Linked DNA regions of Homo sapiens: all the other regions are linked to region 1. The links are contacts of gene promoters, found by promoter capture Hi-C in blood cells and fetal thymus (Javierre and others, 2016). All regions are on one chromosome and are shown on one strand. Each heading gives the region's core, a stretch centred on a gene start or on the middle of the fragment in contact. The rest is flanking DNA. Distances are from core to core; before and after follow the strand shown.

The links. The method cuts DNA at HindIII sites, captures the fragments that hold promoters and counts their contacts. A CHiCAGO score of 5 or more calls a contact.
Region 2: a fragment that was not itself captured here is called in contact with the fragment with the promoter of ZNF225 in region 1 in 5 of 17 cell types (naive CD8 T cells, naive CD4 T cells, total CD8 T cells and 2 more); the score reaches 10.9 in naive CD8 T cells.
Region 3: a contact is called between a fragment that was not itself captured here and the fragment with the promoter of ZNF225 in region 1, in 1 of 17 cell types (non-activated CD4 T cells). The highest score is 9.2, in non-activated CD4 T cells.
Region 4: a contact is called between a fragment that was not itself captured here and the fragment with the promoter of ZNF225 in region 1, in 2 of 17 cell types (naive CD4 T cells and activated CD4 T cells). The highest score is 7.8, in naive CD4 T cells.
Region 5: a contact is called between a fragment that was not itself captured here and the fragment with the promoter of ZNF225 in region 1, in 3 of 17 cell types (monocytes, non-activated CD4 T cells and total CD8 T cells). The highest score is 8.8, in monocytes.
Region 6: a contact is called between a fragment that was not itself captured here and the fragment with the promoter of ZNF225 in region 1, in 1 of 17 cell types (naive CD8 T cells). The highest score is 6.1, in naive CD8 T cells.
Region 7: a fragment that was not itself captured here is called in contact with the fragment with the promoter of ZNF225 in region 1 in 6 of 17 cell types (non-activated CD4 T cells, activated CD4 T cells, total CD4 T cells and 3 more); the score reaches 25.8 in non-activated CD4 T cells.

What each region holds. Positions count from the first base shown.
Region 1 is chr19:44,111,094-44,115,128 of GRCh38, forward strand. It overlaps ZNF225 (zinc finger protein 225), which reads left to right and starts at 2,306. Exons shown (of 5, transcript NM_013362.4): 1 at 2,306-2,476. It overlaps ZNF225-AS1 (ZNF225 and ZNF224 antisense RNA 1), which reads right to left and starts at 2,090. Exons shown (of 2, transcript NR_033341.1): 1 at 1,729-2,090. RefSeq lists a silencer at 2,017-2,367 and an enhancer at 2,060-2,759. The HindIII fragment of the contact is 4,811 bases long and covers 1,509-4,035 here.
Region 2 is chr19:36,480,910-36,484,944 of GRCh38, forward strand. The region is part of intron 1 of ZNF566 (zinc finger protein 566); the gene reads right to left. Among named protein-coding and RNA genes, the nearest start is that of ZNF566, 6.6 kb to the right of the region's middle. The HindIII fragment of the contact is 921 bases long and covers 1,683-2,603 here.
Region 3 is chr19:36,515,091-36,519,125 of GRCh38, forward strand. ZNF260 (zinc finger protein 260) reads right to left here. Exons shown (of 3, transcript NM_001166037.2): 3 at 1-609. The coding sequence starts at 148. Among named protein-coding and RNA genes, the nearest start is that of ZNF260, 11 kb to the right of the region's middle. The HindIII fragment of the contact is 3,899 bases long and covers 207-4,035 here.
Region 4 is chr19:36,559,389-36,563,423 of GRCh38, forward strand. The region is part of intron 2 of ZNF529 (zinc finger protein 529); the gene reads right to left. Among named protein-coding and RNA genes, the nearest start is that of ZNF529, 12 kb to the right of the region's middle. The HindIII fragment of the contact is 5,321 bases long and covers 1-4,035 here.
Region 5 is chr19:36,840,404-36,844,438 of GRCh38, forward strand. It overlaps a transcript of ZNF790 not described here. Among named protein-coding and RNA genes, the nearest start is that of ZNF790, 4.0 kb to the left of the region's middle. The HindIII fragment of the contact is 389 bases long and covers 1,891-2,279 here.
Region 6 is chr19:37,063,358-37,067,392 of GRCh38, forward strand. It overlaps LOC105372390 (a long non-coding RNA gene), which reads right to left. Exons shown (of 2, transcript XR_001754095.2): 2 at 1,545-4,035. It also overlaps a transcript of ZNF420 not described here. Among named protein-coding and RNA genes, the nearest start is that of ZNF420, 13 kb to the right of the region's middle. The HindIII fragment of the contact is 6,364 bases long and covers 1-4,035 here.
Region 7 is chr19:37,088,232-37,092,266 of GRCh38, forward strand. It overlaps ZNF420 (zinc finger protein 420), which reads left to right. Exons shown (of 5, transcript NM_144689.5): 3 at 808-896; 4 at 2,764-2,890. The coding sequence starts at 888. Among named protein-coding and RNA genes, the nearest start is that of ZNF420, 12 kb to the left of the region's middle. The HindIII fragment of the contact is 6,334 bases long and covers 1-4,035 here.

The DNA.
Region 1 (4,035 bases), core at 1,056-3,555:
AGGTAAGTGCACCTAATATTCATCTCCCTACTCTTGCTGTATTCAGAATGAGTGAATATAAAGAGAAGTCATCTGAAATTATTGTGTCTCAGCAGCAGAAAGAAGTGGAATACACGGTTGGACGCGGTGGCTCACGCCTGTGATCCCAGCATTTTGGGAGGCCGAGGCGGGTGAATCACCTGAGGTCGGGAGTTTGAGACCAGCCTGACCAGCATGGAGAAACCCCCTCTCTACTAAAAATACAAAATTAGCCGGGCGTGGTGGCACATGCTTGTAATCCCAGCTACGCTGGAGGCTGAGGCAGGAGAATCGCTTGAACGCGGGAGGCGAAACTCCCTCTCAAAACAAAAAACAAACAAAAAACAACCAAAACTGAAAGCTGGTAATGAAACAAATACGTATACACGAACATTTGTAGCAACACTGTTCACTACAGCCAAAAGGTGAAAAGAAGCCAAATGTGCGTCAATGTATGAATGGAGAAACAAATTGTAGTATAAACATAAAATATTCATCTATGAAAAGGAATGAAGTACTGATACGTGGTATGATGTGAATAACATTAAAAATATTATGCTAAGCAAAGGGAGTTAGAAACAAAATGTTCCATTCATTTTTATGATTTGTCCAAAATAGGTAATAGAAAAGAGAGAAAGATTCATGTTTCCCCAGGAATGGGATTATGGACAACAGTAGTGATTGCTTAGTGGGCATGGGGTTTTCTTTGGGTGATAAAAATGTTTTGTAATTCAAGAGGTGGTGGTTTCACAATGAAGCAGCTACTTTGTCTGAGGTTTAAACCCGGGGTTCGTCGTTAAGCGCCAGAAAAATTTAGGACACGGACACACAAAAACTCCTCAGTTTAGGAGCGGAGGTTTAATAGGAAGAAGAGAAAGAGAAACGGGTTCCTCCATAGAGGAAGGGGTCTCCGAGCGGAAAAGGGTCGGCTGGCAGTGAATGTGCTGAGTTTTACAGACCAGTTTGAGGAGGCAGTGTCTGATTTACATAGGGGTCATAGATTGGTTCGATCAGTTATGACGTTTACATAGTGCGTGGGGAAGGCTGGTCGCCCCACCCTAATCTTCTTATGCAAATAGGCTTCCCAGTTGATTGGCCCATCTTGCCAGCTTCTTACTGTGCACGTGGCTGACAAAGAGAAGGGAAGATGGAGCCGCCATCTTTAACATGATTGGCACAACTGCTGGTATCTATGTCTGCGGCAGCTGGATTTTACAGGCTGCTCTTCCTTAGGAAGGGAAATAATTTGGGGCTGCTTTTCATTAAAAAGAAAAGCCTTACCGAGGGCTCCCATACCCTATCTGCCTAAGTGATGGCTTCTTAACTCGTATATATTAACAACACTGTATTCGTACTAGATGCCATTGCCATTGAATTATGTGCCTTAAAATAATTTTGTTTTGTGAATTACACCTCAAAAATATTTTTTAAATAATAAAACGACCACGTTAAAAACGTTTTGCATAGCGAAAAACAAGTCAAAGGAAAAAAGCTTTTTGGTTGAGCAATATTTGATACAATGTTAATATGAGTATGTAAATAATACTTAACGGAGGGGAAAAAACTAAACACTCAATAGAAATGTGGGCAAACTATTTGACCAATTCACAAAGACTATAATAGTGGCAACGGAAAATATGCACGGATGTTCCACTTTATTTACAAAAGAACAAATACAAATTAAAACTACATTTAGAAACCATTTCTTACCATTAGATTAGCAAAACTTAACTCCTCGAAGACTGTGTCTTCTCGCTTGTTCCCTTTCCAATAACACTCCTGTTATCATTGGAGGCGTTTAGACTTCAGAAATTCCTGTCTATTCAGTATTTTCTGTCCTGGACCAGGGAGAGAGAAGGACGACTCTCAGGATAACAGTTCACATTCCCCACTAGGCAGGCGCTCGTGGCTTTGGGATTCGTTCCCAGTGGGCACCTCGGAGTGGCAACGCTTCCCCCTGAAGAATGAGATTTTGAGCGTTTTTCCTTCAGCATTCGGAGGAGTGTAATCCAAATGCTCTGTGGAGTCGTACACACTGGCTCCAGAAGGAGGATACAAGCAATTCTGGGAATGGTAGTCCAGACGCTCAGTGGAGTAGCGGTCAGCTTGGCTCCGGCAGGCGAATCAGGGGATTTCTGGGAAATGTAGTCCAGACGCTCAGTGGAGTCTCGGTCAATTTGACTCCGGCAGGTGGATCCCAGGGAATTCTGGGAAGTGTAGTCCAGACGCTCGGGGTCGTCGCGGTCAGTTTGTCTCAGGAATTCTGGGAAGTGGAGTCCAGACACTCAGTGGAGTAGCGGGCCACTTCCGCTCCGTTACTGTGAGGTTGCTGCAGTTTTGTCCCTGGTAGTTTGGGTCAGTTCCGCGAGACCCTTCTGAATTTCCTGGACCTACGCATTGGATCCTTAACGAACTGGTGATCGAATTAGGGGAAAAGAAACCTCGTCGGAGAGCAGAGGTTTGGCGGAGCGGGGCCGCTGTTTTCGTTCTCGTCAGTGGAGCCTTCTTGGGCTTGGGGCTCTCCTCGCGTCCCCGGGGTGTTTGGGACTTGGTCGGGTCGCGTCTCGCCTGGTTTTAGGGTCTCCGGGGCTCTGAGCTCGCCCACTCGGCCTCCCTGCACCCCACGCGCGTGGCCACTTCCTCGCGATAAAACGCTGGGATGTTACTTAATCTCCTTGGGTCTCCCGTTACAGTTCTTTAAGATGGGGAGTTTAGGACCATCCTAATAGAATCGTTTTGGGAACTGAAAGCGGTAACACAAATGAGAGCCTTAAAGCAGCCCCTGTCACTTGGTGACTGGTGGTCTCTTGTTAATTTCCCACGAAGCCTGTCAGGTCCCCGGGTGGGGTGAAACTCCAGCTGCAGGGGCACCGGCCCTTCTCCCTGATTCCTGCAAGACGCTGGGTGATCCCGGACGCCTTCTGACCTCTCTTTTAGGAAGGCGAGGGTTGCATCCACTTCCAGGAGGGGAGAGGAGCATTTAACTTTTATGGGGCACGGCGACCACGGTCAGAGTGTTTCACAGCCTTCTCCTTACCCAGCCCGACCTTTCCAAAAGAGCTGCAGGGAGGGACTTCTTGGCTTCTGAGGGCAAAGCTCTACGTGAGTGATCCTTGGCTTTTTTCTTTGACAGAGATGCTCACCCCAACCGAGAGTGTATAGGATGTGTCTTCGGGCATGGGTGTTGCTTTCAGTTGTCATGTTTTTCTAGTCTTTAATCTTGAAAGATAGCATAGCTTTCATCGTTTTTTCTTGGTATTTTATCCTTGTTATTTTTGAAGAGTATAGATGAAGTTATTTTGGTCAAAGATGTTCATTTGGAGTTTTTCTGATGTATTTCACGTTTAACTTCAAAATATGCATTTTTTGCTGGAATACCACAGAAGTGGTAAATCTCTCTCTCTCTTTTTTTTTCTTGAGACGGAGTTTCGCTCTTGTCGCCCAGGCTGTAGTGCATGGCACGATCTCAGCTCATTGCAACATCCACCTCCTGGGTTCAAGCTATTCTCCTGCCTCAGCCTCCCAAGTAGCTGGGATTACAGGTGCCTGCCACCACATCCGGCTAATTTTTGTATTTTTAGTAGAGAAGGGATTTCACCATGTTGGCCAGGCTGGTCTCAGACTCCTGACCTCAGGTGATTCAACCGCCTTGGCCTCCCAAAGTGTGGGATTACAGGCATGAGCCACCGTGCCCAGCCTGAAGTGGTAAATTTCTTATTGCAACATAACAGGGGCCATATGTCAGTTTGTCACTTCATTGGTGATCTCAACTTTGTTCACTTGGCTAAAGTCATGTTTGTCAGATTTCCGCATTGTAAAATTATTTTGAATTTTTTTTTTTACCCCAGGAACACAGATTCAAGTTGCTCTCAATATACACTCCCTAATTTTTTAGTTAAATAAAATTTTGTAAGGAGAAATACATTTATTAGTGCACATTCTACTGTAAAGGTGAACTCTCCCTTCTCCTTCATTTGCTTATTCATTCATTCAACTATAAATATTCTATCAGTGTAG
Region 2 (4,035 bases), core at 893-3,392, 7.6 Mb before region 1:
GCAGACGCCTGTAATCCCAGCTACTCAGGAGGCTGAGGCAGGAAAATCGCTTGAACCCAGGAGACAGAGGTTGCAGTAAGCTGAGATCACACCACTGAACTCCGGCCTGGGCAACAAGAGTGAGACTTCGTTTCAAAAAAAAGCACTAGTCATAAAAGACAAAGTACTAAATAAATATCTGCTACAAAAATGGGGAAAGACATAAACAGGCAATCTTTTAAAAGACTCTGAAATGTTCAAACACACTCATAATGAGAGAAATAAGAAAACAACAATGAGGGCTGGGCACAGGGGCTCATACCTGTAATCTCAGCACTTTGGGAGGCCGAGTCTGGTGGATCACCTGAGGTCAGGAATTTGGGACCAGCCTGGCCAACATGGTGGAACCCCATCTCTACCAAAAATACAAAAATTAGCTGGGCGTGGCGGCACGCGCCTGTAGTCCCAGCTACTCAGGAGGCTGAGGCAGGAGAATCACTTGAACCCAGGAGGCGGAGGTTGCAGTGAGCCGAGATCGCGCCACTGCACTCCAGCCCCGGCAACAGAGCAAGACACTGTCTCGGGAAAAAAAAAAAAAAAAAAAAAAGAAAAGAACACTGAGGTACTATTTCTCATCTATTAGACTGGTGAAAACTAAAAAACATGACAACATATTCTGTTAGGTGGGCTGTGAAGGGAAACAGACATGCTCATACACAGCAAGTAGGAATAAAAACTGGTACAACAGTTCTAGAGAGGAATTTTGCAATACTTAACAAAACTACAAAGCACTTACCTTTTGACCCAGCAATACCGCTTCTAGGAATCTACCCTAAAGATACTCCTCCAGCAATAGAAAAATACATATATACAAGGTTATTGCAGCACTGTTTCTAGTAACAAAATATTGTAAATGACCTAAATATCCATACGTAGGAAAGCGGTTCAATAAACTATGATAAATCCACAGGCTGCAGTATTATGTAACAATTAGAAAAGAATTATGAATATCTCTTTAACTGCCTGAGTGTTATCCAGAATGTATCATTAAGAGAAAGAAACAATGTACAAAAGAGTGCCTAGAGAATGCTATCTTTAATGTAAAAAGAATATAGGTAACTCTTCATTTGTGCAAAAGAAACACAGCAAGGATAAAGCAGAAACGAATGAAGTTGAATATATACAAGGAGTCTGTGGGAACTAAGTTAATTTTTATTTATTTATTTATTTATTTTGAGACGGAGTCTCGCTCTGTCGCCCAGGCTGGAGTGCAGTGGCGCGATCTCGGCTCACTGCAAGCTCCGCCTCCCAGGTTCACGCCATTCTCCTGCCTCAGCCTCTCCAGTAGCTGGGACTACAGGCGCCCGCCACCACGCCCGGCTAATTTTTTGTATTTTTAGTAGAGACGGGGTTTCACCGTGTTAGCCAGGATGGTCTTGATCTCCTGACCTCGTGATTCGCCGGCCTCGGCCTCCCAAAGTGTTGGGATTACAGGAGTGAGCCACTGTCCCCTGCGAATGTTTTCACATTCAAAATAGTGTAGCCTGCTACAATCAACCAGGATGTGGGGGAACCCAAAATGCAACAAATGATCCTTAAATGTAAGAAAAATGTAAGAAAAAAAAAAAACATACTGAAAAGAGTGGCAAAGAAAAGAACTAAATTGAGTAACTTTGGAAGATGTTTGTTTACTATATACTATAAGCTTAAAGAAAAAGAGCTACACAGAGATTCTCTACTGTAGTTACTAAATACTTTTTACACAGGTCCAGGTTGGCAACTCTGAACTAATTTGCATGTATTCTAGGATAGAGCTAATTATTGATTCTGAGAAGCAGGTTTCTCTCTGTTGGAAAATGAAGTAACAAGGAAATGGCCAAATTTGATGGGAGACAATTCTCCATGGGTCTTGCATGTTTCTGCGTATCTTGCAAGAAGAGGTACTAAGTGTTTTTGTTCTGCACTATTTTACCAAGTTGTTTATACAGTGAACAGCCTTGGAAGACAGAGTCGGTCTCCTTCTACAGCAAAGGGTAGGCATTCTAACTATCCATTATAAAAAATTCAGGTTTCCTAAGGTCAAGGGAACACACAGATACCTGTGTATTTTGCATAATCCTGGGTGTATGACTGAATCAGTACCATGAGAATGTAGATATTCTGAAGATTGCCATGAGCAACAAAGCATCCTTTGTCTCAGACTCAGAAGTCTCATGTTTTCTGAACGTATCTGTGAAACTGACAAGCCAACTTACTAGCTTACAACTAGGGTAAAATCTCAGATAGTTCATAGTTCTTGGGAAAAGAAAATACCCTGTGGTACTGGAATAGAATTAAACATATGAGTGTAAACTGGTGTGTTTTTAACATATAAACAAATAAATAGACATAAATGTGCATGTAGACATTTGTGTATTTTCTCACTCTCTCCACTGACCAGAACCAGAGCAAAGACACACCAGTAGCAATAAGCACACCAAGTGCCCAGATCTTGGTTTATAAATTCATTCTCCAATAAAAGAAATTAATGCTGCTTGGAGAAATTGCTGAGCCCAGAGATGGAAGAGGGAAAATACAAGATGAACCTGGAACATCTTATGTCCCAGAAAGCGGGGTTGGGGGGAAGCTTTAAAAAATGATCACACGTTGAAAAGACACAAGAGCCAACTTAAGGAGCTTCTGATGGCCAAATATGGGAAAATTTGAACAGCAAAATAAATAAATAATAATAATAGAGAATAGAATAAAATAAATATCCATGAGTCCATAGGTAAATAATTGAATAAACAAATGGGGACAAAAGAAAAACTTCAGCTGAATTAAATGTAAAGGAGTTTCATTGAACAATGAACGATTCGCAAATCAGGCAGCCCCCAGAATCACGGCAGATTCAGAGACACTCCAGGGATGCCTCGTGGTCAGAACAAATTTATAGACAAAAAAAAGGGAAGTGACATACAAAAATCAGAAGTGAGGTGGAGAAACAGCTCAACTGGTTACAAGTTCTTGTTTGCCTTTTTTTTTTGAGACGGAGTTTTGCTCTTGTTGCCTAAGCTAGAGTGCAATGGCACGATCTCAGCTCACTGCAATTCTCCTGTGTCAGCCTCCTGAGTAGCTGGGATTACAGGTGCACTCCACCACACCTGGCTAATTTTTTGTATTTTTAGTAGAAATGGGGTTTCACCATGTTGGTCAGGCTGGTCTCCAACTCCTGACCTCAGGTGATCCGCCTGCCTCGGCTTCCCAATGTGCTGAGATTACAGGCGCCAGCCTCTGTGCCCAGACAGTGTTTGCCTTACTTAACACAGTTTGAACACTCAGCAGTGTATGAGTGGTTGAAGTATTGCTGCTGGGATTAGCCAAGACTCAGCTTGTTACAGGCACATACACTGTTACAGGCACACAAGTTAGGTTTCCAATTCTGTCTACCTGTTAGGTTACAGTTCGTCCATAAGGACTCAAATATAGAAGTACAAAGTCCTTCTCAGGCCACATTTAGTTCACTTTTAACAGGAGCAAGAAGAGACAGCTCTTCCTTATAGTAGAATTTAAATTATCAAAGTGTAAGAAATGATAGAAGGAGAAAATCACCGCTAGGCAAACATCACAGTAATAATTGTTACAGGTAAAAATTATCAATGAATGTTAAAACTAATGCGTGAGAAAACATGATGAGAAATAGGATTTTGGCATAGTTTCTTTTTTTTTTTTTTTTTTTTGAGATGGAGTCTCGCTCTGTCACCCAGGCTGGGGTGCAGTGGCGCGATCTCAGCTCACTGCAAACTCCACCTCCCGGGTTAACGCCATTCTCCTGCCAGAGCCTCCCGAATAGCTGGGACTACAGGTGCCCACCACCATGCCCAGCTAATTTTTTGTATTTTTAGTAGAGATGGGGTTTCACCGTGTTAGCCAGGATGGTCTTGATCTCCTGACCTTGTGATCCGCCCACCTCGGCCTCCCAAAGTGTTGGGATTACAGGCATGAGCCACCGCGCCCAGCCATTTTTACATAGTTTCAAATTATTTCCCCACAAGATACTTATTCAATAAAATGGGA
Region 3 (4,035 bases), core at 906-3,405, 7.6 Mb before region 1:
TATGCATTTTCTTATGCTCTACAAGGTTTTGCTTCAGGCTAAAAGTTTTTCTACATTCATTACATTCATAAGGTTTCTCTCCAGTATGAATTTGATCATGCTGAAGGAGATCTGATTCATGCTGAAGACTTTCCAACATGCCTATCATGCATGTGAATTTAATCAGGAGATTTCCCTAGTATCAAATAAGATGTAATAAGGATGAAAGCTTTCCCACATTCACTAAATTCATATGGTGTATTTTCAATATTAATTCTCAGGTATCTAATGAAGTTAAATTTATGATGGAAGACTTTTCTCACATTGATTACCCTGAGATGAGATGATTACAAAAAGGGATAAAATGTAACATTCTCTTTATATTCTTAATGGTTCTTATATAGCTTCTCCCATATTTAGGTATAGATTGTATATAAATTAGGTTTCAAATTCTTTTAAACTGAGTTCCATACACAGAAGGGTAGTCTTGAAGAATCAATGACTGTTCAGAGGAAATACTTTGTTTCCTAAATTTTCCCTCAGTCTGTCTTTTCACAGAGAAAGATGAGACTTAACTTACAAGTCTTTCATGTTGCGTCTTTATCTGTTTATAAACTTCCCAGGCTTCTTCTAAAAGGAAGTACAAAAAAATCATAATTGAAAAAGTTAATATAATATATAGTGCCTGGCATGTAATAAGCGTCCAATAAATTAGGTTATCATTATCATCAACATAATATCACTAACACCTTTGAAGTTTCCCATTATTAATATAATTTCAGAAATGTATTACTGTAAAATAGATTCTTTTTTTTTTTTGAGATGGAATTTCGCTCTTGTTGCCCAGGCTGGAGGGCAATGGCGCGATTTTGGCTCACCGCAACCTCTGCCTTCCAGGTTCAAGCAATTCTCCTGCCTCAGCCTCCCGAGTAGCTGGGACTACAGGAGCCCGCCACCATGCCTGGCTAATTTTTGTATTTTTAGTAGAGGCAAGGTTTCTCCATGTGGGCCAGGATGGTCTCAAACTCCCGACTTTGGGTGATCCGCCCACCTCAGCCTCCCAAAGTGCTGGGATTACAGGCATAAGCCACTGCGCACGGCTGTAAAATAGATTCTTTATCCAAGCCTAGTCTCATTATAAAATAAAGTTCAAATACAAATAACATTCCCAGGTATGTGTAATTTTAATTGCTTTTCAATGTAACCCAGCACACTTCATAAATCAGTAAAATGAGAGAAAATAAGGCTAGGTATGGTGGTTCACACCTATAATCCCAGCACTTTGGAAGGGTGAGGCAGGAAAATTGCTTGAGGCCAGGAGTTTGAGAGCAGCCTTGGTAACACAGCGAGACTCTCGTCTCTATAAAAAATTTAAAAACTAGCCAGGCATGGTGCCTGTAGTCCTAGCTACTGAGGAGATTGAGGTGGGCAGATTGCTTAGGCCCAGGATTTCAGGGCTGCAATAAGCTATGATCGTGCCAGTGTCTGGGTGACAGTGCAAGACTCGGTCTTTTATTTTATTTTTTTGGGTCGGAGTCTTGCTCTGTCGCCCAGGCTGGAGCGCAGTGGCATGATCTCGGCTCACTGCAAGCTCCGCCTCCTGGGTTCACGCCATTCTCCTGCCTCAGCTTACTGAGCAGCTGGGACTACAGGCGCCCACCACCATGCCCTGCCAATTTTTTGTATTTTTAGTAGAAACGGGGTTTCACCACGTTGGCCAGGGTGGTCTCGATCTCCTGACCTCGTGATCTGCCCGCCTTGGCCTCCCAAAGTGCTGGGATTACAGGCGTGAGCCACTGCGCCCGGCCGACTTGGTCTTTAAAACATAAGGAATCGGTGAGAAACAGGATGAAAGGACAAATACTTAAAAGACTGGGAGTGCATAGGAAGACAGGGCAAAAATAAAATGAACAGAAAAGTTTAAATAAGGTGCTTATTTCTATGTCTTCCCGAAACACCATTAAAATGACAGTAAAAGGGTGAAGAAGGACACATAAGAACTAAACGGTTAAGAAGATATCAGTGGACAAAAAGTATTAGGAGGACTAGGGATAGTGGCTCCTTCCTGTAATCTCAGCACTTTGGGAGGCCAAGGCAGGAGGACTGCTTGAGGCCAGGAGTTTGAGATCAGCCTAAGCAGCACAGCAAGGCTTTATCTCTACAAAAATTTTAAAAATTAGGTAGGTGCAGTAGCATACACCTGTAGTCTTAGTTACTTGGGAGGTTGAAGTAGGAGGATCGCTTGAGCCCAGGAGTTCGAGGCTGCAGTATGCTATGATCATGCCATTGCAATCCAGCCTAGGTGACAGAGTATGACCTTGTCTCTAAAAAAAAAAAAGTATTAGGAAATTTTGGAAAGAAAGCAAATAGAGAACTGTAAATTAACAGCAGAACTGAGTGGTTTAAAGAAAAGCCAGCAGATGTGGGGGCCACCTTCACAGGTCTGTAACACAGATATTGACAGATATGCTCTGTCAGTGGAGAAACTGGGCAAGAGTGGAAGGCAGGGCTTACAAAATGACTGTGAAAGGACCAGCTAATGCCCTGAACTCTCCTAGCTGGACAGAAATGTGAAGTTTATCATCCAGACAAAACCAAGAGGCTCCAAATTTAGTGATGACCAGCAAAGTAATGAGAGCATCCTAGTAAGAGAAGAATGAGTAAAAGTTTATACACATAACAGAGGCTCTTCTACTGTTAGAGTCCGAGAATGCTGGTGGTTACTAGCTGTCAGATGATGGAAGAATTATTTTCTTTTTTCTTTCTTTCTTTTTTTTTTTTTGGGACGGAGTCTCGCTCTGTTGCCCAGGCTGGAGTGCAGTGCGATCTCGGCTCACTGCAACCTCTGCCTCCCGGGTGAAGGGATTCTCCGGCATCAGCCTCCCGAGTAGCTGGGATTACAGGTGCCCGCCACCACGCTCGGCTAATTTTTGTATTTTTAGTTAGAGACGGGGCTTCACCATGTTGGCCAGGCTGGTCTTGAACTCCTGACCTCATGATCCACCCGCCTTGGCCTCCCAAAGTGCTGGGAATACAGCCATGAGCCACCGCACCCGGCCCGGAAGAATTATTTTCTGAAAAAATGAGAAGACCATGAGAACACCTACAGATGCTAACATTTGGAATCATCTAACGAAACACATCTATATTACTGATTGATGCACAGTGAAAACCACCATTTCATAAGCCCCGCTTACATACACAAATTAATATAGAGCTAAAGATCAGAAAACATTTGATGAAAGTCCTAACATCAAAGGCAGATCAAACAAAATACAAGGCAAAGAGCAGAAAAACTCACCCATATAATACTACAATTAATATCATGGAAAGTTAGGAGATTACTATTATCACTGCAATGAAATATTAACAGTGTTCTATAAAGAGGTGTTTTTAGAAATAAACAATATGAAATTGATCTTAAAAATTCAGTATGTTGGGGAAAGAAAGTCTAGAAAATCTCCTAGAATAAAAAAAGGAAGAATGGAGGAAGGCAGAAAGAAAGAGTGTAATGGTTGGAACATTTAGTGGGTTAGTGGAAGAATCTGGAAGGATCAGCATCTACTAAAGAAGTTCCAAAGAAAGTATGAAGAAAAATGAATACAGGACATTTTCAAAGAGCTAATAAAGAACACTTCCCAGAATTACAAATCATGAGTCCACATACTTAGCAGGCCCATTGAGTACAAAGAACATTCCATTTAAAAAGATAGCGGCGAAAGCACATCAATACAAAATTTCACCTAGGGATAAAAAGAGGATCCTAGTTTGAGACCGGCCTGTGCAACACAGTGTGATCTTGTCTCTACTAAAAATAAAAAAGATTATCTGGGTGTGGTGGCATATACATGTACTCCCTTCTACTTGGGGAGGCTGAGATGGTACGATGGCTTGAGCCCAGGAGAGTGAGCTATGATTACCCTACTGAACTCCGGCTTGGGCAAGAGTGAGACCTTGTCTTAACAAAAAAAAAAAATCCTAAATGTTCCAAAACATTTATCCTATAAAAGGAAATAAAAGAAAAAGACATACCACATCAAAAAGGCATCAGATTGC
Region 4 (4,035 bases), core at 825-3,324, 7.6 Mb before region 1:
ACCTCCACCTCCCGGGTTCAAGCAATTCTCCTGTCTCAGCCTCCTGAGTAGCTGGGATTACAGGCATGTGGCACCATGCCCAGCTAAGTTCTGTATTTTTAATAGAGACGGGGTTTCACCATGTTGGCCAGGCTGGTCTCAAACTCCTGAGCTCGTGATCCACCCACCTTGGCCTCCCGAAGTGCCGGAATTACAGGCGTGAGCCACCACACATGGCCAAGTCAGTAACTTGAAGAGATATTTGCAGTCCTTTTCATGGCTGCATTATTCATAATAACCAAGGTATGGAAACCTAAGTGTCCATCAATGGATGGACAGATAAAAGTGTGTTTGTATGTGTGTGTATACATATATGTATGTGTCAATTATATATCAGTAAAACAGAGGGGGGTGGTTATCCTTATGCAGCAAACCTATATTTCAAAACTTAAGAACATTTCAAAACTTAAGATGAAAAGACATTTCCAGATAAAAACTGAATTTATTGCTAGCTGACTGACCTTAAAAAGTACTCAAGGAAGCTCTTTAGGCTGAAAACAGGTGATCCCAGGCAGTAATACAAATCCATAAGAAAAAACAAAGAGAAGTGGCCTGGTGCGTTGGTTCACACCTGTAATTCCAGCACTTTGAGAGGCTGAGGCGGGAGGATCCCCTGAGGTTGGGAGTTCGAGACCAGCCTGATCAACGTGGAAAAACCTGGTCTCTACTGAAATAAAAAATTAGCCGGGTGTGGTGATGCATGCCTGTAATCCCAGTTACTCGGGAGGCTGAGGCAGAACAATCACATGAACCCAGGAGGCAGAGGTTGCGGTGAGCCGAGATCACGCCATTGTACTCCAGCCTGGGCAACAAGAGCGAAACTCCGTCTCAAAAAAAAAAAAAAAAAAAAAAAAGAGAAGCAAGCCAGTTTTATGTAATTATAAAAGACAGTATACATATATATCTCTTCTCCTCTTAACTGATATACAAATTTTATGAAACGTGTACTTATGTATTTATTGGGCCCATAACATACAGAAATGTAATATATTTGCTAATAATAACACAAGGCAGGGGAAAGCAAAGTTGTACTGGGCTAAGGAAATGAATCCAGATGGTAACTCGAATCCATCTGGACCAAATGAGGAGAACCCAAAGTGAGAAATCAGATTGATAAAATAAAAGTTATAAATGTATAAAGGTTCTCCTTTCTTCTCATTTTTTTTTAAAAACATAGACTTATATAAGGTAAAAATTACAACAACGATTGGTTGAGTTTGAAACATCTGTAGATATAATGTGAAGACCAATATTACTATAAGAGAAGATGAAAGGAAATAAGAGTTATATAGGAGTAAATTTCTCTATCTCACTTGAATTAAGCCAATATAAATCAGAAGCTGTTTCTGAAGTAAGATATTTGGCAGAATAAATCTCTAAGCAGCAAAGTGTTCAGGGTGCTGCTCGGCTTCTCTTAACTACTCAGAGTAAAATGTGAGAAGAAACAATACAAAGATGGGATTTATAACACGGAAGCAAAATATAGAGATTTGAAAATTCTCAGCCTAAGCATGTAAATAAAAAGGTATTTAGGAAAGTAAACCAAGGGTGTGACCAAGTGACTTTCTGATCAGAGTGTGGCTAGAAAGAAGCCAGGTGTTTTCATCATGACAATAGGAGAATGAACCCAATGGCACTTCAGAGAGCTTCAAGGCTGCTCCTCCCATCACAGGCCCACAGTGCGAGGGCCTTGAAGGCAGGATGGTTTCCAGGGAAGGGCGTAGAACACTCATGGAACTTTGGGGCTTGCTGCCCGGGGCTGCCTCAAGTCTCTGCTCCCCACATCCCGGCACAGTGCTCCTTGGCTGCCGTAGTTGTGGCTCCAGTGGGCCCAGGTGCAGTTTAGTCCCTGCTCTGGAGGGCAAAGTGGTGAACCTCAGCATCCACATGGTACTGATTTTGCAAGTGTGCAGAGTGCACAAGATGTGGAAGCATGGCATCCTTCAAAGAGATTTCTTTTTTTTTTTTTTTTTGAGACAGACTCTCACTGTATTGCCCAAGCTGGAGTGCAGTGGTGCGATCTTGGCTCACTGCAACCTCCGCCTCCCCGGCTCAAGCAATTCTTTTGTCTCAGCCTCCCAAATAGCTGGGATTACAGGCACGTGATGCCTTGGAGAGCCTCAGGGCCTAGACAGAGACCTACTACAGAGGCAGAGCCACTGCAGACAGTCCCCCCTAGGGCATTGTCCAGTGGAGTCATACAGGCTGTGCCACTCCCCAAACCCTAGACCTGTAGAGCCAGCAGCATGCAACATGGGCCTGGGAGAGAGCCAGTGGCACCTGACTGCAACCTATGAGAGCTGCAGTATGAACTGTGCACACCAAAGCCATGGTGGCAGGGACCCTTCGGGCCTTTGGGGTCCAACCCCCATCCCAGTGTGTCTGGAACATGCGACAAGGAGTCAAAGATGATTATTCTCCAGGCTAAAGGTTTATTGTTGTTTGCCCTGTTCAGTTTTGGACCTACTTGAGACCAGTGACCCATACTTTCTTATTTATCTGTTTTGGAATAGAAATGTCTGTCCTGGCCGGGTGCAGTGGCTCATGCCTATAATCCCAGCACTCTGGGAGGCCAAGGCAGGTGGATCATCTGAGGTGGGGAGTTCAAGACCAGCCTGACCAACATGGAGAAACCCCATCTCTACTAAAAATACAAAAAAATTAGCCAGGAATGGTGGTGCATGCCTGTAATCCCAGCTACTCGGGAGGCTGAGGTAGGAGAATCGCTTGAACCTGGGAGGCGGAGGTTGCGGTGAGCCGAGATCGCACCATTGCACTGCAGCCCAGGGGAAAAAAAAAAAGAAATGTCTGCCTTATTCCATTATTATTCCATTGTAGCTTGGAAGCACGTAACTAGTTTGGTTTCACAGGTACAGGACTAGAGAGCAATTTGCCTCAGGATGAATCACATGATTTAGATAATACCTAGATGAGACTCTGCCCTTTAAGTTGACTTTAAAGTTTATGCTGAAATGAGTTTTAATACTTTGGGGGCTATTGGAGTGAAATGAATGTATTTTGTACATGAGAAAGACATGAATATAGGGGGGGTCCAGGGGCAGAATGTAACATGTCCTCTCCAAAATTCAGGTGTTGCCAATGTGATAGTATTAGAAGGTGGAGCCTGGCCGGGCGCGGTGGCTCATGCCTGTAATCCTAGCACTTTGGGAGGCCGAGGTGGGCGGATCACGAGGTCAGGAAATCGAGACCATCCTGGCTAACAGGGTGAAACCCCGTCTCTACTAAAAAACTACAAAAAAATAGCCGGGCGTGGTGGCAGGTGCCTGTAGTCCCAGCTACTCAGGAGGCTGAGGCAGGAGAATGGCAGGAACCTGGGAGGCGGAGCTTGCAGTGAGCTGAGATTGTGCCCTCCAGCCTGGGCGACAGAGCAACACTCTGTCTCCAGAAAAAAAAAAAAAAAAAGAAGGTGGAGCCTTTAAGAGGTGATGAGGGGCTCCTCCCTTTGTGAATGGGATTACAGCCTTCATAAAAGAGGCTCAATGCAGACTTCCTTGTCCTCCCTTTTGCACGTGAGGACACACGTCCTTTCTGGAGGATGCAGCATCAAGGCACCCTTGGAAGAGGACATTTGAACCTGATGATGCCTTGATCTTGGACTTCATAAACTACAGAACTGTGATACATTTCTGTTCTTTATAAATCAGGTATTTTGTTATAGCAGCACAAACAGACTAAGAAAGTTGCCTATGGGTGCCAGGCGCGGTGGCTCACGCCTGTAATCCCAGCACTTTGGGAGGGTGAGGCAGGTGGATCATGAGGTCAGGAGTTCGAGACCAGTCTGGCCAACACAGTGAAACCCTGTCTATACTAAAAATACACCAAAAATTAGCCAGGCATGGTGGTGTGCGCCTCTAATCCTAGCTACTCGGGAGGCTGAGGCAGGAAAATCGCGTGAACCCAGGAGGCGGAGGTTGCAGTAAGCCGAGATCACACCACAGCACTCCAGCCTGGGCAACAGAATGAGATTGTGTCTCA
Region 5 (4,035 bases), core at 835-3,334, 7.3 Mb before region 1:
CAGTAAATTTATATGGGATTTATTTGTTCCCCAGCAGTGAGTTGTGACAATACATGTGAGATGTTACCAATCAGGGCAGTTTATTATAGATTCAGTGCCCTATGTTTTTATTGGGGGCTGGTCACATAGGCAGTCTGTGCCTAACACATACCAGAATTTCAAATTCCCAGAAGGAAAGCGGGTGTTTAACATAAACCATACTGTTTGTACAAAAAGTTTAGGCATAGTAAGCCACTTATTAGGAAGGTGGGAACCAATCTGAAATTCAAGTTCTAGATGCAAGCCAAAGACTAACCTCGCATATCAGGCCTTTCTAAGGATAAGTAGTCTCAGACCTGCTATGTTAACTAATTTCTGCTCACTACTGTCCTAAAGATGTATGGTTTTCAGCAACATCAAATTACAAGACACATGAAAAGGCAAGAAAAATCATGACACTCAAGACATAAAAGCAAAAAGCAACAACAAACAAATAGAGGTAGACTCAGGTAGGATCTCCCCAGGAGCTTGAGGCTGCAGTGAACTGTGATTGCACCACTGCACTCTAGCCTGGGCAACAAAGCAAGACCCTACCTCAAAAATTAAAAGAAAAGAAAAAGATATGATGTAGATGTTGGAACTATCTAAAAAGGAATTTAAAATATTATTAATATTTTCAAAGCTTTACCATAATGTTTTTCAACCAGAGGTGATTTTGTTCTCCAGGAGATATACAGCACAGTATGAAGTTCTTGGTAGTCACAACTGGAGAGGTACAATTTGCATTTAGAGGACAGAGGTCAGGGAAGCTGCTAAATACACTACAAGCACAGGATAGCTTGCCACAACAAAGAATTATCCAGTCCCAAATAATGGTCCAAGGTTGAGATGCCCTAAGTAATCAAGACAGTGTGTTTTTGGTGAAGGACAGAAAGATAGATTAATGGAAGGAACAGGCTGGGCACGGTGGGTCATGCCTGTAATCCCAGCACTGTGGGAGGCCAAGGCAGGTGGATCGCATGAGGTCAGGAGTTTGAGACCAGCCTGGCCAATGTGGTGAAACCCCATCTCTACTAAAAATACAAAAATTAGCTGGGTATGGTGGCTCGTGCCTGTAATCCCAGCTACTCAGGAGGCTGAGACATGAGAACCTCTTCAACCTGGGGAATGGAGGTTGCAGTGAGCTGAGATGACACCACTGCACTCCAGCCTGGGCAACAGAGCAAGACTCCATCTCAAAAAATATATATATATATTTTTAGGCCAAGGCAGGCGGATCACCTAAGATCAGGAGTTCAAGACCAGCCTGTCCAACATGGCGAAATCCCATCTCTACTAAAAAATACAAAAATTAGCTGGATGTGGTAAGGCAGGGAGAATTGCTTGAACCCAGGAAGTGGAAGTTGCAGTGAGCCGAGATCACACCACTGCACTGCAGCCTGGAGGACATAGCAAGACTCCATCTCGGGGTGGGGGGTGGGGGGAGGGGAGAAGTTATTATTATTTTTTTTTGTAGAGACAAGGTTTCACTATGTTGCCCTGGCTGGTCTCAAACTCCTGGCCTGAAGCGCCCCTCCCGCCTCTGCCTCCCAAAGTGCTTGGATTACAGGCATGAACCACCACTCCTAGCCTATAAAACTTTTTTAGGAACACATAAAAGAAAGTGTACATGACCTGCAGTTAGATGAAGGGTTCTTAGACATGACAACAAAAGCACAATCCATAAAAGAACAACTTGATATACTGGACTTCATAGAAAATGTAAACGTCTGCTATTGAAGTAACACCGTTAAGGAGAAAGACATGGGATAGATTGGGAGAAAATATTTGTAAATCATATATCAGGCAGAGGACTTGTATCCAGAATATATAGAGAACCTTCAAAACTCAACAAGTAAACAAATAACCTCAAGCTTAAAATGTGCAAAGGGCATAAACGGAAATAAAAAGATAGATACCAGGAAAAAATATTATAAAATGTGCCTATATGAGATTTATAAATCACTAATTTCCACCATATATAAAGTGCTCATACATTTCAATAAAAGTGAATAATATTTCTAGAATTTAAAAAATTAGTATTATAGTGAGACAGACAAAGGAAACATAGTTCATGGAAATAATAAGTTTTAAATATTTAAAAAGGTATTCACCTTCATATCCAATGAAACAAAGTTAATAATATAGTCAGAATGAAACTATAAAAGTCACTTTAGGGATACAATGGAGTGGCTTGCAGCAAACCAGTATTCCTGCAGAAAACTAAAAAATCAGATATAATACAAAAAAAAAAAACACAAAGCTTTTTAACTTTTTTTTCCTGTATGAAAAAGACATGAGGGGCTGGGCGCGGTGGCTCATGCCTGTAATCCCAGCACTTTGGGAGGCTGAGGCAGGTGAATCACAAGGTCAGGAGTTCGAGAGCAGCCTGGCCAACATGGTGACACCCTGTCTCTACTAAAAATACAAAAAATTAGCTGGGCGTAGTGGCGGATGCCTGTAATCCCAGCTACTCAGGAGGCTGAGGCAGGAGAATCGCTTGAACCCAGGAGGTGGAGGTTGCAGTGAGCCAAGATCGCACCACCACACTCCAGCCCTGGCAACAGTGAGACTCCATCTCAAAAAAAAAAAAAAAAAAAAGACATGAAGGAGTGTTTGGGACAACCAGGAATAGCGTAGTCAAGACTATAGATTGTAGGTAATCACAGACATTGTGCAGCCACATTTTTCCTGGATTATTTGCCAATTCTTGGCAAAGGGCAGAAGGATCCAGACTGCTAGGACTTTAGTTTTCTGGGCCTAAAAACACAACATTGGAGACTTTATGGGCCAAGATCCCTGTGAGAAAAGAGGGACACAGACTTGAACTCTACATAAGGCTGGTTTTCTTCTCAAGACAGTTACCCATTTCTGAAACTGGTTGGGTCAGGAGGCTCAGGAACTTAGGCGGAAAGCTTCCAAAAAGCAGCAGAGTTTTTGGTAGTCTTGCTGGATTAAGAAGACAAAGATTTTGAGTTCAGGCCCTGTCAGGGGAAGGTGCCTTGGTGAACACACCAGATCCTCCTGAAACCCTGATGGGCTACGTCCTAGGAGCAGGCAAACCAGAAGCACAATGAACCTCCACAACCGTAATGGAGCCCTGACTCAACTCAATCACTGATTAAATGAAGGTCATCAGCCCCTACTTGATCTGCCCAGTAAAGGAAAGGATGAATTCTCTAAAGGAAGATATTATCTGCAGCCTCTACTATTTTTATACACCAGTCCAGAATTTAATTTTAAAAAGTATTAAGCATGCCGAGACAGGACTGTATGACAGAAAACTCTGAAAAAACAAACAGGTCGGCCAGGCACAGTGGCTCACACCTGTAATCCCAGCACTTTGGGAGGCCAAGGTGGGTGGATCACCTGAGGTTGGGAGTTCGAGACCAGCCTGACAAATATGGAGAAACCCCGTCTCTACTAAAAATACAAAATTAGCCGGGCATGGTGGCACATGTCTGTAATCCCAGCTGCTCGGGAGGCTGAGGCAGGAGAGTTGCTTGAACCCAGAGGTGGAGGGTGCAGTGAGCCGAGATTGCACCATTGCACTCCAGCCTTGGCAACAAGAGCGAAACTCCATCTCAAAAAAAAAAAAAAATTAAAAAAAAAAAAAAGGCCGGGCAGGGTGACTGATTCCTGTAATCCCAGCACTTTGGGAATGCCTGGGTGGATTGCTTGAGCCCAGGAGTTTGAGATCAGCCTGGGCAATATGGCAAAACCTCACCTCTATAAAAAAATTAGATGGGTGTGGTGATACATACCTGTGGTCCCAGCTACTTGTGAAGCTGAGGTGGGAGGATCGTTTGAGCCCAGGAGATTGAGGCTGCAGTGAGCTGAAAACACACCACTGTGCTCCAGCCTGAGCAATAAAGCAAGACCCTGTCTCAAAAACAAAACAAAACAAAAAACAAAAAAAAAAAAACCCAAAAAGCCCCCAAACTCCAAACAACAAACAAACAAGCAAACAATAGAAATAGACCAAAATGTGATCCTGGCATTAGAGTAAGTAGGCAA
Region 6 (4,035 bases), core at 1,134-3,633, 7.0 Mb before region 1:
TCCCTTTCCCAGGCATTGTGAAGACCCGGTTTCCCTAGCTGTGCAGCTGCAAGGTCACTAGACAGATAAACTCAAGTCGCAAAACATGTTTTTCCTTGAAAAGTAAGAAATGATGTAATGCATGTCTCACTTGCATAAGTGCCTTTGTTTCTCGCTTCTGTAGTATGCTTCCCCCTGCATAGATCTCCCCCCTCCCCCGCCTACCCCCACCCGACGAAATGCCTAAAAGGTAATTTAACTCTTTGTTCAGGGCTCAGTCCTTTAGATGTTAATCCGACTGTGCAGTTAAATAATTAATAAATATCATATCCTCCTGAACCCCATCAGTCGCTCTAATTCCTTAAAGATCCCACAACATCCCTCAAAATGCTGCATATTTCCTACAAAAAGGACATGCCCCTACCTACATAACCACAATCCAATTACCAAAATAAAGAAATTAACATTTATTTGTTATGACCATCGATATCAGATTCAAGTGTTGCCAATTGTGCCATTAACTGGATAGCATGAAAGGAACAAATTTAGAATCATGCATTGCCTTTAGATGTCATGTCTCTTTAATCTCCTTTAGTCTGATACAGTTTCTCAGTCTTGCCCTTTTATAACCTTGACACTTTTTATTATTATAAGCCAGTCTGAAGAATTTCCTTCCAATTTGGTTTTCTCTGATGTTTCCTCATGATAAGGTTCCGAGTTGTAGAAAGAATGCCACAAAAGTGATGCATGCTCCTATCAGGGGCACATGATGACATTCTATCCTATTACTGGTAATACTCCTTGATGAAAGAGCATTACATCTTAATCACTAAGATATACCAGCCAGGCTTCTCTACTGTAAAATTACTCTTTTTTTCCTTTGTAATTAGTAAAGATTTTATGGGGAGGTACTCTGAGACTATGTAAACACACCATTCTTCATCAAACTTTCAATTTATTAATTTATGTCAGTATAGACTTGTGATTTCCTATTTCATTCAGAGGTTTGTAATCTATTATTACTTATTTTAATGACCAGTTTGCTCCAGATTTGGCAAGTGGGAGCCCCTCCTGTGTGGGTTTTGCGGCCTTTAACAGGTTCCTATCATTCTTTGAGCGCCCCTTACTTACACATATAAAAGATGTTCCAGGCTCATCTTGTATTTGCTGTGCCCAACACTGGAATCAATCATTTCTTCAAAGAACGCAGATTTTTATCAGAGGAAATAATAATAGTAGTAAAATATATATTTTATGTGTGTATTTATGTATATGAAACATATTTGATCAGTCCCCCCTAGAAGAAGCCACTATCCCATTACTGCCGCCATACTCTCCCTGGATAGATACCTCCTCATTGTGCTCAAGCTACAGTGCAGTGCTTTAGGCCTAAGTAACTGCACCGGCATGTATGCCTAGCTTGCTCAGCCCCTAATGGATTTAGGATTACAGTATTAGGAAGAGAAGGGAAAATGAAGAATCTTTCCTGTTGGGGTGATCAGACCCAACACCAGGTCGTGGGGGTGACAAAGTCCGGCGGAGTCAAAGGATTGAGAAAAAGACAGTTTGAGAGAGAAAAGTGGGACCGGACCCAGGGGGCCATCACAATCGTAGAGGCTGCGAAGGCCCGAGCTCTGGGAGCCCATGCTATTTATTGGTAATCCAACAAAGAAACAGGTGGTGAGAATGTGGAGGTCAAAAGGGCACATTGCATTAAGTACATGATTTACAGCTGTGATGGTTTAGCATTTGCTCTACTTGAGATAATGGAGAGCAGATTCTTTTAACTCAAGATACAATCAATCCTGGGAGAGCAAGGAGCAAGGAGCCAGCAAGTCTAGATACATTCCAGAGCCATGAGCCCTGGATTCTATCCAAGCCACAAGGGATTTTATGCCCTGGGCTTAGATTATGGTGCATGATGGTAGGCTTCCACCCTTTAGCATAGAGCTTGGTGTTCCAAAGGCCACAAGGGGTTTTAGACCCTGGACCCCGGACATGTTCCAAGACTCTTTTACATTATGTCAGACATGCAAGCCCTGCCTCAGCTTCTCCTAACCCTCAGCTTTTTCCCAACACTTTCCCAGCTGGATCAGAGAGATGCAATGTTTGAAGGACTTGACCCTCTATTGCTGGCTTTTGAGATGGAGGAAGGGGGCCGTGAGCCAAGGAATGTGGCAGCCTCTTGAAGCTGGGAATGGCCCTTGGCTTACAGCCAGCAAGCAAATGGAGACATTGGACTTACAGATGCAAGAAACTGAATTCTGCCTATTAACCTAAATGAGTAGGAAGCAGATTCTCCCTAGAGCCTCTAGAAAATAATGCAGCATTGCTGCCACTTTAAATTTAGTTCAGTGAGGTCTGAACTTCTTGACCTACAGAACTAAAAGCTAATAAATTTGTGTTGTTTTAAGTCACTAAATTTGTGGTAATTTGATACAAGAAAATACTCGTACAGTGGTCACTTAATTTTCAATAAAGGTGCCAAAGACCTCCACTGTTGAAAATACCATTTGCATTTTCAATAAATGGCACTAGAACAACTTGATATCCATACAGAAAAAGAAATAAATGAACTTCAACCCCTACCTGCCACCATGAACAAAAATTAACATAAATCCTAGAACTAATATAAAAAGCTACAACTCTAAGGCTTCTAGAAAGAATAAATATGTAAACATATTTCCAACCTGGCAGTAGACAATTTGTTAAGTCACAGAAAGCAAAACTGCAAAAGAAAAAGAATTGACAAATGTTATCAAAAATGTTTTTCTTACTCATCAAAAGACACTGTTAAAAATATGACTAAGAACATTTATAACTCGGCCAGGCGCGGCGGCTCACGCCTGTAATCCCAGCACTTTGGGAGGCTGCGGCGGGTGGATCACCTAAGGTCAGGAGTTCGAGACCAGCCTGACCAATATGGTGAAACCCCGTCTCTACTAAAAATACAAAAATTAGCTGGGCATAGTGGCATGCGCCTGTAGTCCCAGCTACTCAGGAGGCTGAGACAGGATAATTGCTTTAACCCGGGAGGCAGAGGTTGCAGTGAGCCGAGATTGCACTCCAGCCTGGGTGACAGAGCAAGAGTCTGTCTCAAAAAAAAAAAGAACTTCTATAACTCAACAATAAAAAGATGAACAAACCAATTAAAGATGGGCAAAAATTTTGACCAGATACTTCACAAAGAAAGATGTTTTGCCAATAAGTACATAAAAAGTGATCAACATCATTAGTCATTAGAAAAATGTAAATTAAAAATACTGTGGGACAGTAATGAGATATATAGCCAGAAAGACAGCACCAAATGTTGGCAAAGAGGTAGGGAGACTGAAACTCTCATACTTTGTTAATGGGAGTGTAAAATGGTGCAATCCCTTTGGGTATGGTTTGACAGTTTCTTATAAAACTGAACATACACCTATACACTGTGTCTGAACAATTCCATTCCTAGGTGTTACCCCAGAGAAATGAAAACAGATGTTCATAAACAGACATGTCCAAGAATGTTTATGACACTATTATTCATAATAGCCAAAAACTTGGAAATAGCACAAAAGTTCAACAAGAATATGAATAAACTGTGATACAATCATAGAGTGGAATACAACTCAGCAATAAGAACTATTGAGTATACCACAAACACCCACACATACAACATGGATACATTTTTAAAACATTATACTGAGTGAAAGAAGCCTTACATACAAAAAACACATATTTCAATCCCAATTATACGAAGTTCTAGAAGAGACAAAAATTAATCTACAATGGGAAAATATCAGAATGGCAGTTGTTTCTGGATATAGAGTGGGAAATGACTAGGAAGGAGCATGAAGGAACTTTCTAGGGTGATGGTATTTTTCTTCACTTTGACAGGATTTTGGTTTGCACAAGTATTTGAATCTGTCAAAATTCTTCAAATGGTAAATTTAAGATTACACAATTTTACTGTATGTACATTTTACCTAAAAAGCTGTAACTAGATATTGAACTTTAGTTAGTGGTATGCATGCTAAAGTATTTAGGGGTAAAGTATACGATGTCTACAACTAA
Region 7 (4,035 bases), core at 463-2,962, 7.0 Mb before region 1:
CAAAATTGAGAACCATACCTGGAAAAAATGTGTTTATGATTTTCCAGGTCTGGAATCTCTTACATAATGCATTTTGTGCATGACTTTTTCAATTTGCTGAATTTATCTACTTTCCTATTATTGGATGGTTTTACTATTAGCTGTATCTTCCAGGAATGCAACCATGATTTGATTGAGAAAAAGGCTCTACTTCGCTTAAGAAATTTACTGAGTTTTTTTTAACCATTTCAAAAAGTTATAGTATTGATGGCAATGCTAATTGTGTTATTTGTCTTGCCTATAGCAAATATGTATAGAAACCTCCATTTATAGATAATGCATTTCTATTTATTCTATACGTACACATGAACACACATATATTTAGCCTTTATTTCAAAATGTCAAATATAAAAGGTGTCAACAATACTTAGTTACATATTGTCATTTTATAAGTCTAAATTTCTTCATTATAAGTAATTGTAGGCATAAGCATTTAATTATTTGTGCCTTCTAATGTAGTTGTGTATGATCATAAATATATTGAAATATTAAGTTGTTCATTATCTCCATTTTTGACATCTATAGATGTGTCGTTATTACCTATGAGTTTCATTTCAGAAGTAGTAGAGACATTGTTATATTTTCTTTTTGTATATAGAAAGCATTGAGTTTGATCAAGTTAAGAACCACAACATATGTCTGTCCCCCTTAGTGTGTGTTTTGGGGGTGGGAGAAACAGGAAGAAAAGAACAACAAAGATAATTCCAACTGAATCATTTGTTACTTTGCAAAACACCTGGTCTCATGGTTCTGCTTTCTCCTCCGTAGCTCTGCATTCTCCAGACTCTGTGCTTTCCTAAGATAGGAACCCAGAAGAGGACTGATCATTTCTTGCAGCTCTAAAAACCATGGCTCGGGTAAATTGGAGTTTCCTTGTGCTCTTTTCACTTACTTTTTTACAGAGCATGTGTGTGTTTGTATTCCTTACTCCTGAAACTTCATTCCTAACTGACCTCACTCAGGAATGTGCTCCTCAGTTTGTCCCATTCTGATAAGTGATAGTGTCTTCCCTAAGTGTGTCTTTCGAATCTAACCTTTAGTCACATACTTACTCAACAATATGTATATTGTTCAGTAATCTTTGACTAGGAACACTGATCTAACAAAAGTAGAGTTCCCTGATTTCATAAGGTAGAGGAGGATGTTAAATGGCACCACACATGAAAACCTTTTGAACTTCTCTTTAGATCTAAGTTCCCAGGTAGACAAGACAGGAGTTGGTCTTGACTGGGCTCACTCTCAGTATGTGGCAAGCGCTCATGCTTTATGAGTTTTTAAGATTAGGAAGATGATTAGGGACTGAATACAGAGAGATCAGGGATCTTCCCCAGGAACATATAATTTAATATGGATCAATTTGAAATTCGACATTATGTGCTGGTCTTGAATGTATAAATTTGGATTATGTTTTTCACCTTTCTATTGTTTAGAATGATGAAAAGTTACATTTACGGATGAATGGTAAATATGATCATAGTGAAGATGATCATTCACCAGCAGAAGTTGTTGAGAATTATAAACTCTGAGAACCAAGAAATACTTACAAGATTTTTACAACCTAAAATGTTCAAATATGAGCACTTATTAAGTCAGACATATTCATTATATGGAGCTATTCTGTAGCCTATAAAATATTTACTAAATTATTGATGACAAGGAAAATGTTTATGATATAGTACTCTGATCTAATGGTGAATCTGGAGCTTCAATAAATTCTTTAATTTTATACAAATCTTATTTTATAAGGTTTTACAGAAAAATTTTACCATTTTGTTTATTCCTTAAATAATGAAGAGAGAAACTTACATTTATTGAGAATGTATGATACACAATATACATATTGTATAAAATGCTTGTGTATGCTACTTCTTTTAATTGGGACATTGCATTTATTTTATTCCCAGACTTATCTGTAAAGTAAGATGTTCTGTATGCAGAAAATATGTGTAGCAGGCCAGGTGCAGTGGCTCACACCTATAATCCCAGCACTTTGGGAGGCCTAAGCCTTAAGGCCAGGAATTCAAGACTAGCCTGGGCAACATAACAAGACCCCTGTCTCTACAAAAAAATTGGAAAATTATCAGGGCACAGTGGCATGTACTGTGAGTGGCACGTACTGTGGTCTCAACTACTCAGGAGAATGAGACAGGATCACTTAAGCCTAGGAGTTGGAGGCTGCAGTGAGCTATGATGGTGCCACTGCACTCCAGCCTGGATGACAGAGCAAGACCCTGTCTCCAAAACAACAACAACAAAACTATAGCAATAGGAATAATCAGGAACATATTTGTACTTTTCAGCCCATGTGCTCTGTTGCTTCCTTTGTGGAGGGATCTTCATCTCCCTCTCCATTGAAAAAGTATTTTTTTGGCCGGGCACAGTGGCTCACACCTGTAATCCCAGCACTTTGGGAGGCCTAGTCGGGTGAATCACAAGGTCAGGAGTTCGAGACTAGCCTGGCCAAGATGATGAAACCTTATCTCTACTAAAAATACAAAAATTAACTGGGCGCAGTGGCAGGTGCCTGTAATCCCAGCTACTCAGGAGGCTGAGGCAGGAGAATTGCTTGAACCTAGGAGGCGGAGGTTGCAGCGTGCCGAGATCGCGCCACTGCACTCCAGCCTGAGCGACAGAGCAAGACTCCATCTCAAAAAAAAAAAAAGAAAGAAAAAAAGAAAAGCATTTTTTAAATTTCCAAAATTAACATTTTGTTTGTTGTTTCAGAAATTAGTGATGTTCAGGGATGTTGCCATTGACTTCTCTCAGGAAGAGTGGGAATGCCTGGACTCTGCTCAGAGAGATTTGTATAGAGATGTGATGTTGGAGAACTATAGCAACTTGGTATCACTAGGTAAGGAATCTAGCCTTCATATTTCAGGATCTACCTTTGGATTGGCTGCTTTCTCTGCTGTTATTTCAAATTTCCTTTTTAAGTAATTAACTGAATTTCTTATTCTTTTCAAAGGAGGAGTTTGAAATTACTGGAAGTAGACATGGTTTCTCAGGGCACCTTTATCTTTTCCATCCTTCAAAAAGCCTTACCACTGCCTTCTAATACCATCTTCCCTGATGAACAAAGGGCTAGATTTGAAGTTTGGGATACTTGGAATATTGGCAGATAAAACAGCCTATACATTGTTACACTTTAGATCTGCTAAAGGAGCTCTAAATAATTCACACGCCCAGTCACAGATTTAAAAAATAGATGCAGAGATGTATGTTTTTTCTGATAAAAGAGTTTACATCATTTGTATAGTGATAGAGTAGATCAATGCATTTCACCAACAACTCAAATGAAGACAACCCATTAATTAGAACAAACACATTGTCTTATATGTGCTTGGTAGTTGAATATTACATATTAAGAACTTTGGGCTGGGCTCGGTGGCTCACGCCTATAATCCCGGCACGTTGGGAGGCCAAGGTGGGTAGATCACCTGAGGTCAGGAGTTCAAGACTAGCCTGGCCAACATGGCGAAACCCCATCTCCACTAAAAATACAAAAATTGAGCTGGGCATGGTGGTGTGTGCCTGTAATCCCAGTTACTCAGGAGATTGAGGGAGGAGAATTGCTTGAACCCATGAGGTGGAGGTTGCAGTGAGCTGAGATCACATCACTGTACTCCTCCAGCCTGGATGACAGAGCGAGACTCCATCTCAAAAAACAAAAAAAAAAGAACTTGCATTGGACATTGAATGAATATGCTAGAATCATCTTTTATTGTAAAATAGTTGAGGGGGAACCTGTGATTGTCTAAGAAACTTTATTGTTTTCTTCTGTAGTATTTTTATATGAAACAAAATCCGTATCAATTACAACTTTAATAAGTGATTTTCCAACCTACATGATAACTTTATTCCTTGTGCTGGAATAAACTGTCTCTTGCCTCTTCCTTCCTTTCTCCTCTGAAGCCTTTAGGAAGTCAGTGATTAACACATGTCCCTAGAGGACCCAAGTGGTGTGGAAAAAAACCTATGACTTGAGGAGAAAAGCAA